2 separate regions of the Homo sapiens genome follow, and region 2 is linked to region 1. Evidence: promoter capture Hi-C in human tissues and cell types (Jung and others, 2019). All regions are on one chromosome and are shown on one strand. Each heading gives the region's core, a stretch centred on a gene start or on the middle of the fragment in contact. The rest is flanking DNA. Distances are from core to core; before and after follow the strand shown.

What was found. The method cuts DNA at HindIII sites, captures the fragments that hold promoters and counts their contacts. A contact is called where the count stands out against the background at its distance.
Region 2: a fragment that was not itself captured here is called in contact with the fragment with the promoter of IQGAP1 in region 1 in 1 of the 25 tissues and cell types used here (dorsolateral prefrontal cortex).

What each region holds. Positions count from the first base shown.
Region 1 is chr15:90,385,731-90,391,700 of GRCh38, forward strand. It overlaps IQGAP1 (IQ motif containing GTPase activating protein 1), which reads left to right and starts at 2,512. Exons shown (of 38, transcript NM_003870.4): 1 at 2,512-2,666; 2 at 5,044-5,143. The coding sequence starts at 2,612. It also overlaps the pseudogene NDUFA3P4. RefSeq lists a silencer at 2,236-3,015. The HindIII fragment of the contact is 9,768 bases long and covers 1-5,970 here.
Region 2 is chr15:90,239,752-90,245,721 of GRCh38, forward strand. GDPGP1 (GDP-D-glucose phosphorylase 1) reads left to right here. Exons shown (of 4, transcript NM_001013657.3): 4 at 1,149-5,970. The coding sequence starts at 1,158. The coding sequence ends at 2,315. It also overlaps a transcript of CIB1 not described here. Among named protein-coding and RNA genes, the nearest start is that of TTLL13, 6.8 kb to the right of the region's middle. The HindIII fragment of the contact is 7,306 bases long and covers 1-4,903 here.

The DNA.
Region 1 (5,970 bases), core at 1,262-3,761:
AATTTTAAATATTTGAAGATGTTGAATTAACTGAGTGAGACTTAAAAAAAAATTTTCAGGAAATTTCAGAATGCTCTATGTCCTCGTTGCCATTGCGGCTGCCTTTCTCAAGAATGCCTGGCCTAAGGAGCGGGTGCTGGTCCTGTTCCTCACCATCGGGGGCCTAGCTATAAATCTGACCCCAGTCTGCCCCTATACCATGTACTCCACCAGGATCAACTAGGCCACGCCCCACAACAACCCAGTGCCCCTCCGAGATGATGGGAACATGCTGGACATGCCCAGCCACCCCCAAGGCCCAAGCATGGAGTGGTTGAAGAAACTGCAAGCACTTCCATTGACATGGAGAAGACCATGTCCCCTGTGGCCCCCAATAAAAATGTGACCCCCCCGCCTCCGAAATAAATAAATCATTCAGTTTCTGAAAAGTGTTTGGTAAAATGTGCTAGACTTATAAATAGAATAATACAATTTGTAAAGTGAACTTAAAAGCTTAAGAATGAAATAACTTTTTACTTTGTAGGCTTAATAAATGAAACCCTTGCCCACTTTTCTACAGGGGTGTTTTGTTCTTACAGGTTTTCAAGTATCTTTAATAGTCTGAAGGAAGAGTGAATACATTGAAAATAGCTGGAGCAAAACATCTGGAGTCAGGCTATGATTTGGCATGCTAAATCATGCTGAACTTGGCCCATTATCTTGAAGGGAGGAATAGAAAAAAAAATTTAAAAAGAGAAACACAATTGCATTTGCACTTTAGAGAGAACACCCTGATAACTGTGAGGATCTAGTTGGCAGAAGGGCGACTACAGTGTAATCACAACAGGGATGGAGACAAAAGTAGACATCTCAGAAATAAACACAGATTGGATGTAGGGTGCGAGGCAAGGAGCCTGGGGTGTTCCCACTGGGAATTGAGTACTTCTGTGAATAGAGAATATAGCAGGAGCAGGGTCAGTATTTGACACGTGGGATTTGAAGTGTCTGCCCTATACACAGGTGAAAGTGTTCATTAGCTGAAAATACTGAGGGACTTCCAGACGATCTGGTCTGGTGATACATATCGAGGGGTCCTCAGCAGTTATAGGCGAGTGTAGAAAAGATTACTGAGTAGGCAAAGAATAAACGGAAGAGGGCCGGGCGCGGTGGCTCACACCTGTAATCTCAGCACTTTGGGAAGCAGAAGCGGGTGGATTACCTGAGGTCAGGAGTTCGAGACCAGCCTGATCAACATGGTGAAACCCTGCCTCTACTAAAAATACAAAAAAAGTAGTTGGGCGTGGTGGCGGGCACCTATAATCCCAGCTACTTGGGAGGCTGAGGCGGGAGAGTCGCTTGAACCCGGGAGGCGGAGGTTGCAGTGAGCCGAGATCGCGCCACTGCACTCCAGCCTGAACGACTGAGCAAAACTCCGTCTCAAAAAAAAAAAAAAAAAAAAAATGCCGGGCGCGGTGGCTCACGCCTGTAATCCCAGCACTGTGGGAGGCCGAGGCGGGTGGATCACGAGGTCAGGAGATCGAGACCATCCTGGCTAACACGGTGAAACCCCGTCTCTACTAAAAATACAAAAACTTAGCCGGGCGCGGTGGCGGGTGCCTGTAGACTCAGCTACTCGGGAGGCTGAGGCAGGAGAATGGCGCGAACCCGGGAGGCGGAGCTTGCAGTGAGCCCGGATCGCGCCACTGCACTCCAGCCTGGGCGACAGAGCGAGACTCCGTCTCAAAAAAAAAAGAAAATAAAAAAAAAGAAAGAAAGAAAAGAAAAAAGAATAAACAGAAGAGGGCTGCGGACAGAATACCGTTGAATACCAATATCTGAAGGGCAAGCCACAAGGTGCAGGGGGCAGAGGCATCCCTGATACGGGAAAAGAGTTATTTTAAAAAGAACTTGCAAAGAACAATGTCAAGGGATCCAAAGGTAGGGAATTTGGACAGAGTTCGGCTTTAGCATCCGCATCTCAAATACCTGGGTACCTGGGTAATCTGGTGACTGCTGCCGAATCTAAGAGGACTGAGGCCAGGTTGCCAAACTGCGGAGAGTGGGGTTGGAGGGCTTTCATGGCAGTTTGGGGCCTGCTTGTGTCCAACAAGACAACCTGGGTCACCTCAAAGGGTGTCTTCTCCAAATATTGGTGCAGAGGTTAGCTGGGCCGGCAAGAGAAGGGAGATGACCCACTATTTTGATTTCAGGCAGCAGACACCGGCAGCCTTTCGGTTAGAGTTGCGGATAGGGCAGTGGCCTTGGGGGCGGGGCTATAAACCTGGGCGGGCATTCCCGGCAGGGCAAGCTCAGCGTGAGCCCGATTGGAGGATGGGCTCTACCTTCTTCCTTCCGCCTACGGAGACCATAGCGGGATGCAGGGCGGGGCCGGGCTGAGGGGGCGGAGTTAGGGGCGGGGCACGGTGACTCTGGCCCCGCCTCTTTCCGGCCGCTCAGGGCGGTGTCGCTGGGGCGGTGCCGCTGGGGCGGGGCCTGCGGGGTGGGGCTGACGGCACGGGGCGGGGCCTCGGGGACCCCGGCAAGCCCGCGCACTTGGCAGGAGCTGTAGCTACCGCCGTCCGCGCCTCCAAGGTTTCACGGCTTCCTCAGCAGAGACTCGGGCTCGTCCGCCATGTCCGCCGCAGACGAGGTTGACGGGCTGGGCGTGGCCCGGCCGCACTATGGCTGTGAGTGCGGGGCTCCGCGGCGCGGGGGCTTCGGGCTGGGCTAATTGCAGACGAGGCGCGATTTTCCTGGGGGCTCGGCCGGGCGGGTGGGGCAGGGCGGCTGCCGGCAGCTCGGACCCGGAAGAGCCGTCCCGGTGGGGCGGCGGGCGGCGGGCGGGGAGGCCCCTGGTTCGCGCCCCCTCGGGGTCCGAGGCGGCGGAGAGGACCCCCGAGGCCTCCCGCCTTAGCTGGGGCCGCGGTAGGGGGAGCCCCACCCAGCGCCTCTCGCCGCCCAGGCTCGGCCGAGATTGGGGAAGACGGCCTAGAGTGAGGTGGCAGGATGACCGCGCAGGGCGTGTCCCGGGGATTGGGGGTCTGGGTACGCGGGCTCTGCCCGTTTCGTGGAAAGGCGCTGCCCTAGTGTTGCCTGCGGGGTAGACCCAAGGGATAGACCAGGGTCCAGACCTGTCCGGTCCCAGGCTAGCTACGAGGTGCCGTCCTGGGCAAGTCACTTCAGTTTTCTCGGGCTTAGTTCCCTCCTCAAGATTTCAAAAGTAAAATAGTAATAAAGAAAAAAAAAAGAAGCAGAAAATCCTCTGACTTCCTCATTTTCTGTTGTCGGCCCTGGACGTCATTGAACTGCAGGCAGGATTGGCTAAAGGAGGACCCTTTGGGATTTTGAGGTTTTCGGTTTTATTTTATATTGTGGGAATAATGTTCTTTTTTAAAGGATCAACATTTCACGCATCAACAGTTATACGTGAGGTATTGTGCCACGTTTGTGAAATTAAAGATGAGTAAGATCAGGCCCTGTCTCCAAAGAGCGTTTTAATCAGAGAGTCAGGTGTGCAAGCTAATGATTATAAGGTGCAATAATGATAAAAGATGCTGAACTTACTAGCCATACAGAGTAATGTAGGTAAGGAGAAGGGGCCTGGGGAAGACAGTATGAGCACGGGAGGTGACTTTTTTTTTTTTTTTTTTGGAGACAGGGGGTCTTGCTCTGGTCGCCCAGCCTGGAGTTCAGTGGTGCAATCTCAGCTCACTGCAAACTCCACCTCCCAGGTTCAAGCGATTCTCCTGCAGTCTCCCGAGTACAGGCGTCGGCCACCACACTGGCTAATTTTTGTATTTTTAGTAGAGACAGGGTTTCACTGTGTTGGTCAGGCTGGTCTCAAACTCCTGATCTCAAATGATCCCCACGCCTCGACCTCCCAAAGTGTGAGCCACTGCACCTGGCCTGAAGGTGACATTTGAACAGAGCCTTGAAGAATGCTGTGTAGAAAGTTTGACAGGTGGCCAGGCATAGTGACTCCTGCGTGTAATCCCAGCACTTTGGGAGTCCGAGGTGAGAGGATAGTTTGAGGCCTTGAGTTTGAGACCAGCCTGGGCAGCACAGTGAGACTCCATCTCTTAAAAAAAAAAAAAAAAATTAGCCAGGCGTGGTGGCCCATGCCTGTGGTCCCAGCTGCTTGGGGCTGAGGTAGGAGGATCATTTGAGCCCAGAAAGTCGAGGCTGCAGTAAGCCATGATTGTGCCACTGCACTCGAGCCGGAGTGACAGAACAAGACCCTGTCTCAAAAAAAAAAAAAAAAAAGTTTGATAGGGCATGTGGAACAAGAGACAGGACCTGAGGGAAGAGCATAAACAAAGGTATTGAAAGTAGAGGGATACTGTGTTGGGAACTGAGTGATGTAGACTGCACAGTGGTGGGAGGAAGGGAAGAGGAGAGTTTCCAAAAATAGTTGGGACCAGACTGGGAAAGGCCTTGAATGCCTTCCCAAGGAGTTAGGAATTTATTCCACACCTGGTGCCCATGAAGGAAGCAGATTGCTTCAAGGTTAAGCTCAGGCTTTGGAGACAGACTCTCCAGGTTTGGATTCAGGCCCTGTCACTTATTTGCCATGGGGCTGAGTTCACCCAGCCTCAGTTTCTTCGTCTGTAAAATAGGAGTGATAATCACAGGATTGTTGTGGGGTTTCAATGAGAGAATGCGTGTAAAATGCTTCGTACAATTACTGCCACTTATGTCTCAATAACTGCTGGCTTTGGTCATTAATAAAAGAGGGAAACAATATTATCAGATCTGTATTTAGAAGGAGTTCTGGCAGATAGGGACAGATTTGTGCCAAAATCTCAAGACAGTATTTTTCAAGATTACACTGAAACTTAGTACATATTTATATTATCATACATTTTTAAAAAGGTCAAGATGATTATAGTTGAAACCACATAGTTCTTTTTTTAAGAAAGTCATTGTAGTACACCTGGCTGGCTACACACTCATTAGTTATCCTGACTTTCTAGGTGAGTGGCAGGAAATTGATTCTGTGGCAATCTTTTATCACTCAGGAAGGCTACAGATCCTGGTGTTTACATTCTTTCTTTTATGTTGTAGCTGTCCTGGATAATGAAAGACTTACTGCAGAGGAGATGGATGAAAGGAGACGTCAGAACGTGGCTTATGAGTACCTTTGTCATTTGGAAGAAGCGAAGAGGTAAAGATTGGCTGGCTGGAGAGAAGATTAAGAGAAGGGAACTGATAATAGTGTGAATACAAATAAAGATTGCTTTGAGGCTGAACACAGTGGTCCATGCCTGTAATCCCAACACGTTGGGAGGCCGAGGTGGGGGGGAATCACTTGAACCCAGCTGTTTGAGACCAGATTGGGCAACATAGTGACACCCCATCTCTACAAAAAAATTTTAAAAATTAGCCAGGCATGGTGGTGCATGCCAGTAGTCCTAGCTACTCGGGAGCCTGAGGAGGGAGGATCACTTGAGTCCGGGAGGTCGAGGCAGCAGTGAGCCGTGCTCTCACCACTGTGCTCTAGCCTGGGTGACAAAACTCCTGTTTTTGGTGGGGGGAAAAAAAAGAAAAGATTTATTTGAGTATGTTATAGATGTAACTGGGAAGCTGGTGGTTGAGGGAATAAGTATAGGTAGGGTATTTATTTATGGCAATAAGTAGCCTTGATGAGAGTTTATCATGAATCACTGTGATGGGCATTTAAGTGTACTGAACGGTTTTCCAGGTTTCTATTGTTCAGTCTTATGCTTATTGTGCATGTTTTGGGCGTTACCAACTGTGGGGTGGAAATAGCATTTTTAGGATTTGAAGTTATTGGCTTTAATGTTTCACTTATGCTTCATGAATTTTGATTTATATATGAATTGAGTCTCCTCCTCCTATGACCTGCGGAGTGGCTGCTTGGTTTGGGAGGCTTAGAAGCGTGGTGCTGTTGGTGTAGGTCCATCTGTTTGGCAATATTCAGAGTCAGCATCCTCTGCATTCTTTGTGAAGTGAATGTAAAGCTGCTCTTTT
Region 2 (5,970 bases), core at 1-2,500, 150 kb before region 1:
AGGCTGGACTGCAATGGTGCGATCTCGGCAGTGCCTGGTGGCACATGCCTGTAGTTCCAGATACTTGGGATGCTGAGGTGAAAGAATCCCTTGAGCCTGGGAGGTCAAGGCTTCAGGGAGACATGTATGCACCACTGCACTCCTGCCTGGGTGACAGAGTGAGAACCTGTTTCAAAATAAAATAGGCCGTGGCTGGGCGCAGTGGCTCACACCTGTAATCCCAGCACTTTGGGAAGCCGAGGTGGGTGGATCACCTGAGGTCAGGAGTTCAAGACCAGCCAGACCAACATGGTGAAACCCTGTCTCTACCAAAAATACAAAATTAGCTGGCTGTGGTGGCACATTCCTATAATCCCAGCTACTTGGGAGGCTGAGGCCAGAGAATCGCTTGAACCTGGGAGGTAGAGGTTGCAGTGAGCCAAGATAGCGCCATTGCACTCCAGCCTGGGTGACAGAGTGATAAATAAATAAATAGGCCAGGTGCAGTGGCTCAGGCCTGTAATCCCAGCACTTTGGGAAGCCGAGAGGGGAGGGTCACCGGAGGTCAGGAGTTCAAGACCGGCCTGGCCAATGTGGTGAAACCCTGCCTCTACTAAAAATACAAAAATTAGCCGGGCCTGGTGGCGGGTGCCTGTAATTCCAGCTGCTTGGGAGGCTGAGGCATGAGAATCACTTGAACCCAGGAGGTGGAGGTTGCAGTGAGCCAAGATCGCGCCACTGCCCTCTAGCCTGGGCAACAGAGTGAGACTCTGTCTCAAAAAAATAAAAATAAATAAATAAGCTGTGCATGTTGGTTCATGCCTGTAATCCCAGCACTTTGGGAGGCCAAGGCAAAGGGATCACCCGATGTCAGGAGTTCAAGACCAGCCTGGCCAACATGGTGAAACACCATCTCTACTAAAAATACAAAAATTACCCGGGCATGGTGGTGCCTGCCTGTAACCCCAGCTGCCCAGGAGGCTGAGGCGGGAGAACCGCTTGAACCCAGGAGGCGGAGGTTACAGTGAACCAAGATCACTGCCACTGCACTCCAGCCTGGGTGACAGAGTGAGACTCCATCTCAAAAAAAAAAATAAATAAATAAATACAATGACAATCTCTGGAGGTGGGTTACCATCATGTGTTTTCATCTTTTATGACTATTTCAGGTCAGCTCTATGGCTCTTCCACATGATTCAAACGAAACTTCCTATTTGCTGCCTCCCAACAATGAGGACTGGGGCAGGCAAACCATTCCTGACTTTGTTTATGGGCAGAAGGATCTCATGGCAGAAGGGATTCAGTGGCCAAGGAATGCACCTGGCATCCCAGATGCTCTGCCACAATCTCCCTTTGATGCTGCACTCTGCTCTGCCTGGAAGCAGCGGGTGGAGCTGGGGCTGTTTCGCTACCGTCTACGGGAGCTACAGACCCAAATCCTCCCTGGTGCTGTGGGTTTCGTGGCTCAGCTGAATGTGGAGCGTGGTGTGCAGAGGAGGCCCCCGCAGACCATCAAGAGTGTGAGGCAGGCATTTGACCCTGTACAGTTCAACTTCAACAAGATCCGGCCCGGAGAAGTCCTCTTCCGTTTGCACCGGGAGCCTGATCTCCCTGGGACTCTGCTGCAAGAAGACATCCTGGTGGTGATCAACGTCAGCCCCCTGGAGTGGGGCCACGTGCTGCTGGTGCCTGAGCCTGCCCGCCAGCTCCCCCAGCGCCTGCTGCCGGGTGCACTGAGGGCAGGGATTGAGGCTGTGCTGCTGAGCTTACACCCGGGCTTCCGTGTCGGCTTCAACAGCCTGGGAGGCTTGGCCTCGGTGAACCACCTCCACCTGCATGGCTATTACCTGGCCCACAGACTGCCCGTGGAGCAGGCGCCAAGCGAGCCCCTGGACCCTGGAGGCCATTTGCATCTGCTCCAGGACCTCCCAGCTCCTGGCTTCCTCTTTTACACTCGTGGGCCAGGGCCTGACTTGGAGTCCTTGATAAGCAGGGTATGTCGGGCCACTGATTATCTGACTGACCATGAGATTGCTCATAACTTGTTTGTCACCCGGGGAGCTCCGCCGGGAAAGACATCACCTTCCTCAGCCCTCACAGGGGTCCGAGTAATTCTGTGGGCCCGGAAGTCCAGCTTTGGGATAAAGGACGGTGAAGCTTTCAATGTTGCCCTCTGTGAGCTGGCTGGGCACCTCCCTGTCAAAACATCCCAGGACTTCAGCAGCCTGACAGAGGCAGCTGCTGTGGCCCTCATTCAGGACTGTCGGCTGCCCCCATCCCAGGCAGAAGACGTACAGGCAGCACTGGTGGCCCTGATGTCCCAGGAAGAGCAATAATACTTCTGGATGTATTTATGTTCTTTTTTTCTTTTCTTTTGAGATAGGGTCTCACTCTGTCCCCAGGCTAGAGTGTAGTGGTATGATCCTGGCTCACTGTAGCCTCCACCTCTGGGGCTGAAGTGATCCTCCCACCTCAGCCTCTTGAGTAGCTGAGACTATAGGCGTGCACCACCACACACCTGGCTTTTTTTTTTTTTTTTTTTTTTTTTAACGATTAGGTGATTTTGTATTTTTTTATATAGACAGCGTTTCACCATGTTGCCCAGGCTGGTCTTGAACTCTTGGGCTGAAGCAGTCCTCCCACCTCGGCCTCCCAAAGTACTGAGATGACAGGAGTGAGCCCCTGGATTCTTTTCTGTTTCTTTTTTTTTTTTTTTTTTTTTTTTTTTTTTTGAGATAGTCTCGCTCTGTCACCTAGGTTGGGGTGCACTGGTACAATCTCGGCTCACTGCAACCTCCACCTCTAGGGTTCGAGTGATCCTCCTGGCTCAGCCTCCCGAGTAGCTGGGACTATACAGGCTCCTGCCACCAAACCCGGCTAATTTTTTTGTATTTTTAAAAGAGAAGGGGTTTCACCACATTGGCTAGGCTGGTCTTGAACTCCTGACTTTAGGTGATCCGCCCGCCTCGGCCTCCCAAAGTGCTGGGATTACAGGCGTGAGCCACCACACCCAGCCAGGATGTATTCATTTTCTACCTGATGAGTCCCTTTCCAGAGCACTGTCCATCATAGTCCTTTGGACATTTATTTTCATGGCTGCCTTCTCACCTGTCTCAGCCTAAGAAGAAGGATGAAGAAAGCTGATAATGATCTCTTAAAGGGGAGAAAGATAATGGTCTCTTTAAAGGGGAGCTGATAGTGGTCTCTTTAAAGGGGAGAAAATCTGGAATAATTCTACTGAGTAAGACATCATGAATGTATCTGCTACCTCTCCCCGTTCTTGTTCAAGCCCCAGGGGTGTTAAAAAGGAGTGTGTGTGACAGTTACACACTCCTGACTTTACATTTAGATTTTGTCTTCCTTTGATATCAAATGTTAGCACGGTAATAGTGCCTGTGCCTCCAGTATTGAGCTGCCACTTCTGTTCTCAGCCTGTTTATTCCCCTTTGCTCACCACTTATTTTTATTGCTTTGTCCCTTCTTTCCATTTAGCCCTGCTCCACCCAAATGCCCCACTCCTTCACTTTCCCTGCCACCTTGAGCTTTCCTCTAGCCCCCAACACCAAGTTGAATGCTCTTCACTGACATCATCTGATGTAAAAACACAGTGTTGTCACAACTTTCCGGGTGCACGTCTTTTTTTGTTTTGTTTTTTTGTAAGGCTGGGGTGCAGTGGTGCAATCACAGCTCACTGCAGACCCAAACTCTTGGTCTCAAGCCACCCTCCCACCTCAGCCCCCTGAGTAGCTGGGACGATAGGTGTGCACCATCACACCTGGCTAATTTTTAAATTTTTTGTAGAGATAGGGTCTTGCTATGTTGCCCGGGTTGCTGTCAAACTCCTGGCCTTAAGAAATCCTCCCACCTCGGCCTCCCAGAGTGCTAAGATGCCACCACACCTTGGTGCAGGTTTTTTTTTTTTTTTTTTTTTTTTTTTTTTGACACAGGGTCACTGTCACCCAGGCTGGAGTGCAGTGGTATGAAGACAGCTAACTGCAAGCTTCAACCTCCTGGGCTCAAACAATACTCCCATCTCAGCCTCCCTAGTAGCTGGGACCACAGGCATGCGCCACCACACCCGGCTATTTTTTTGGAGAGATAGCATCTTGCCAAGTTGCCCAGGCTGGTCTCGAACTCCTGGCCTCAAGATCCTCCCACCTCAGCCTCCCAAAGTGCTGAGATTATAGGCATGAGCCACTGCACCTGGCCTGAGTTTTTTTTTTTTTTTCTTGAATCAGAGTTTCACTCTGTTGCCCAGGCTGGAGTGCAGTGGTGTGATCTCGGCTCACTGCGTCTCTGCCTCCTGGGTTCAAGCAATTCAGCCTGAGTCTTCTTAATACCCCCATTCAAAACGGGATGGAGACTGACAGTTTGTACTTTGTTCAAGGTCAGGCAGCTGGAGTCGGGACTGCAGCACAGGCAGGTACCAGAAGATGAGCTGGGACAATGTGTGCTTGTGACCGCCTCTCCAGTCAGTGGTTCCCATGGTGGGTAGCACTGTCCTTAACAGTTTGCCCTCCCTGAGCCTCAGCCATCCCTCTTGGGGTCTTTCCCAAGCACTTTAGAAGCTCCTCTTGATGTAGACACAAAATCCAAAGCTAAGTCGTTGTTCCTCCGTCTGCATCTGAGTCAATGTGGGAAATTTTTTTTTATCTCATTGCTTTGTTCTGTCCTGTTTCTCCAGACATTTCACACTGGTTCCAGAGGAACTAGTCAGTAGACACTATTCTAAGAGAGTATGTGGGTGTGAAATCTCATTTTCCTTTTAGCTCCCTTGAATGTTATACAGCAAAAGTAAAAGAAGTCTTGGGTTGGCTGGGCACGTTGGCTCACACCTTTAATCCTAGCACTTTGGGAAGCCGAGGCAGGCAAATCACTTGTCAGGAGTTCGAGACCAGCCTGGCCAACATGGTGAAACCCCATCTCTACTAAAAATACAAAAATTAGGCGTTGTGGCGGCCACCTGTAATCCCATCTACTTGGGAGGCTGAGGCAGGAGAATCACTTGAACCCAGGAGGCGGAGGTTGCAGTGAGCTGAGATTGCACGACTGTACTCCAGCCTGGGCGATAGTGCGAGACTCAGTCTCAAAATAAATAAATACATAAAGTCTTGGGTCCAGCTCTCAACAGAGATTATCACCGCCACCACTCCTTCATCAAACATCCTGAAGGAATGAGAGTCCCTGTTCACAGCGTAAGGGTGAAAGGGGGCTCACACAGGTGGGTTCTGGCTGCTGTCTGAGTGGGCTCACCCAGGAGGGGTTTTGATTTCTCTGCCTCCCAAACTGTGGGTCCTAGCCCTGGCTTAGGCCTTCAGGTCGTTGGCTCCCTATACCTAGGCCTGTATAAAGCCTTAGTTTCCAGTTTTCATTAGAGGTTTTACATCCCAAATGATGTTACAAAGTCTCCCTGTGATAAAGCAGAATATGTGTCCATAGCCCATTTTATAAGAAAAACAGTTTAGGCCAGGTGCGGTGGCTCACGCCTGTAATCCCAGCACTTTGGGAGGCTGAAGCAGGCAGATCACAAGGTCAGGAGTTCAAGACCAGCCTGGCCAACATGGTGAAACCCCGTCTCTACTAAAAACACAAAAATTAGCTGGGTGTGGGTGCACATCTATAGTCCCAGCTACTCAGGAGGCTGAGGCAGGAGAATCGCTTGGACCTGGGAGGCGGAGGTGGCAGTGAGCCGAGATCGCGCCACTGCACTCCAGCCTGGGCGGCAGAGAGAGACTTTGTCTCAAAAAAAAAAAAAAAGAAAAAAACAGTTTACCATTCTATCAGAAAATGTTGACCACCCTCATATTTTTGGTAAACTGCAGTAATTTTTCCTTAATACTTTTTGCAAGCTTTTGCATGCATAAGCTCCAGTATCACACTTAATTTTGCTTGCTTGCTCTCTGAAGGGAGTTCGGATGACCATTACAGCAAAGTGGATTTTGCGTTCAAAGTGATAAGCCAAATATCAGGATTTTCCCAGTTTCTCCGTAG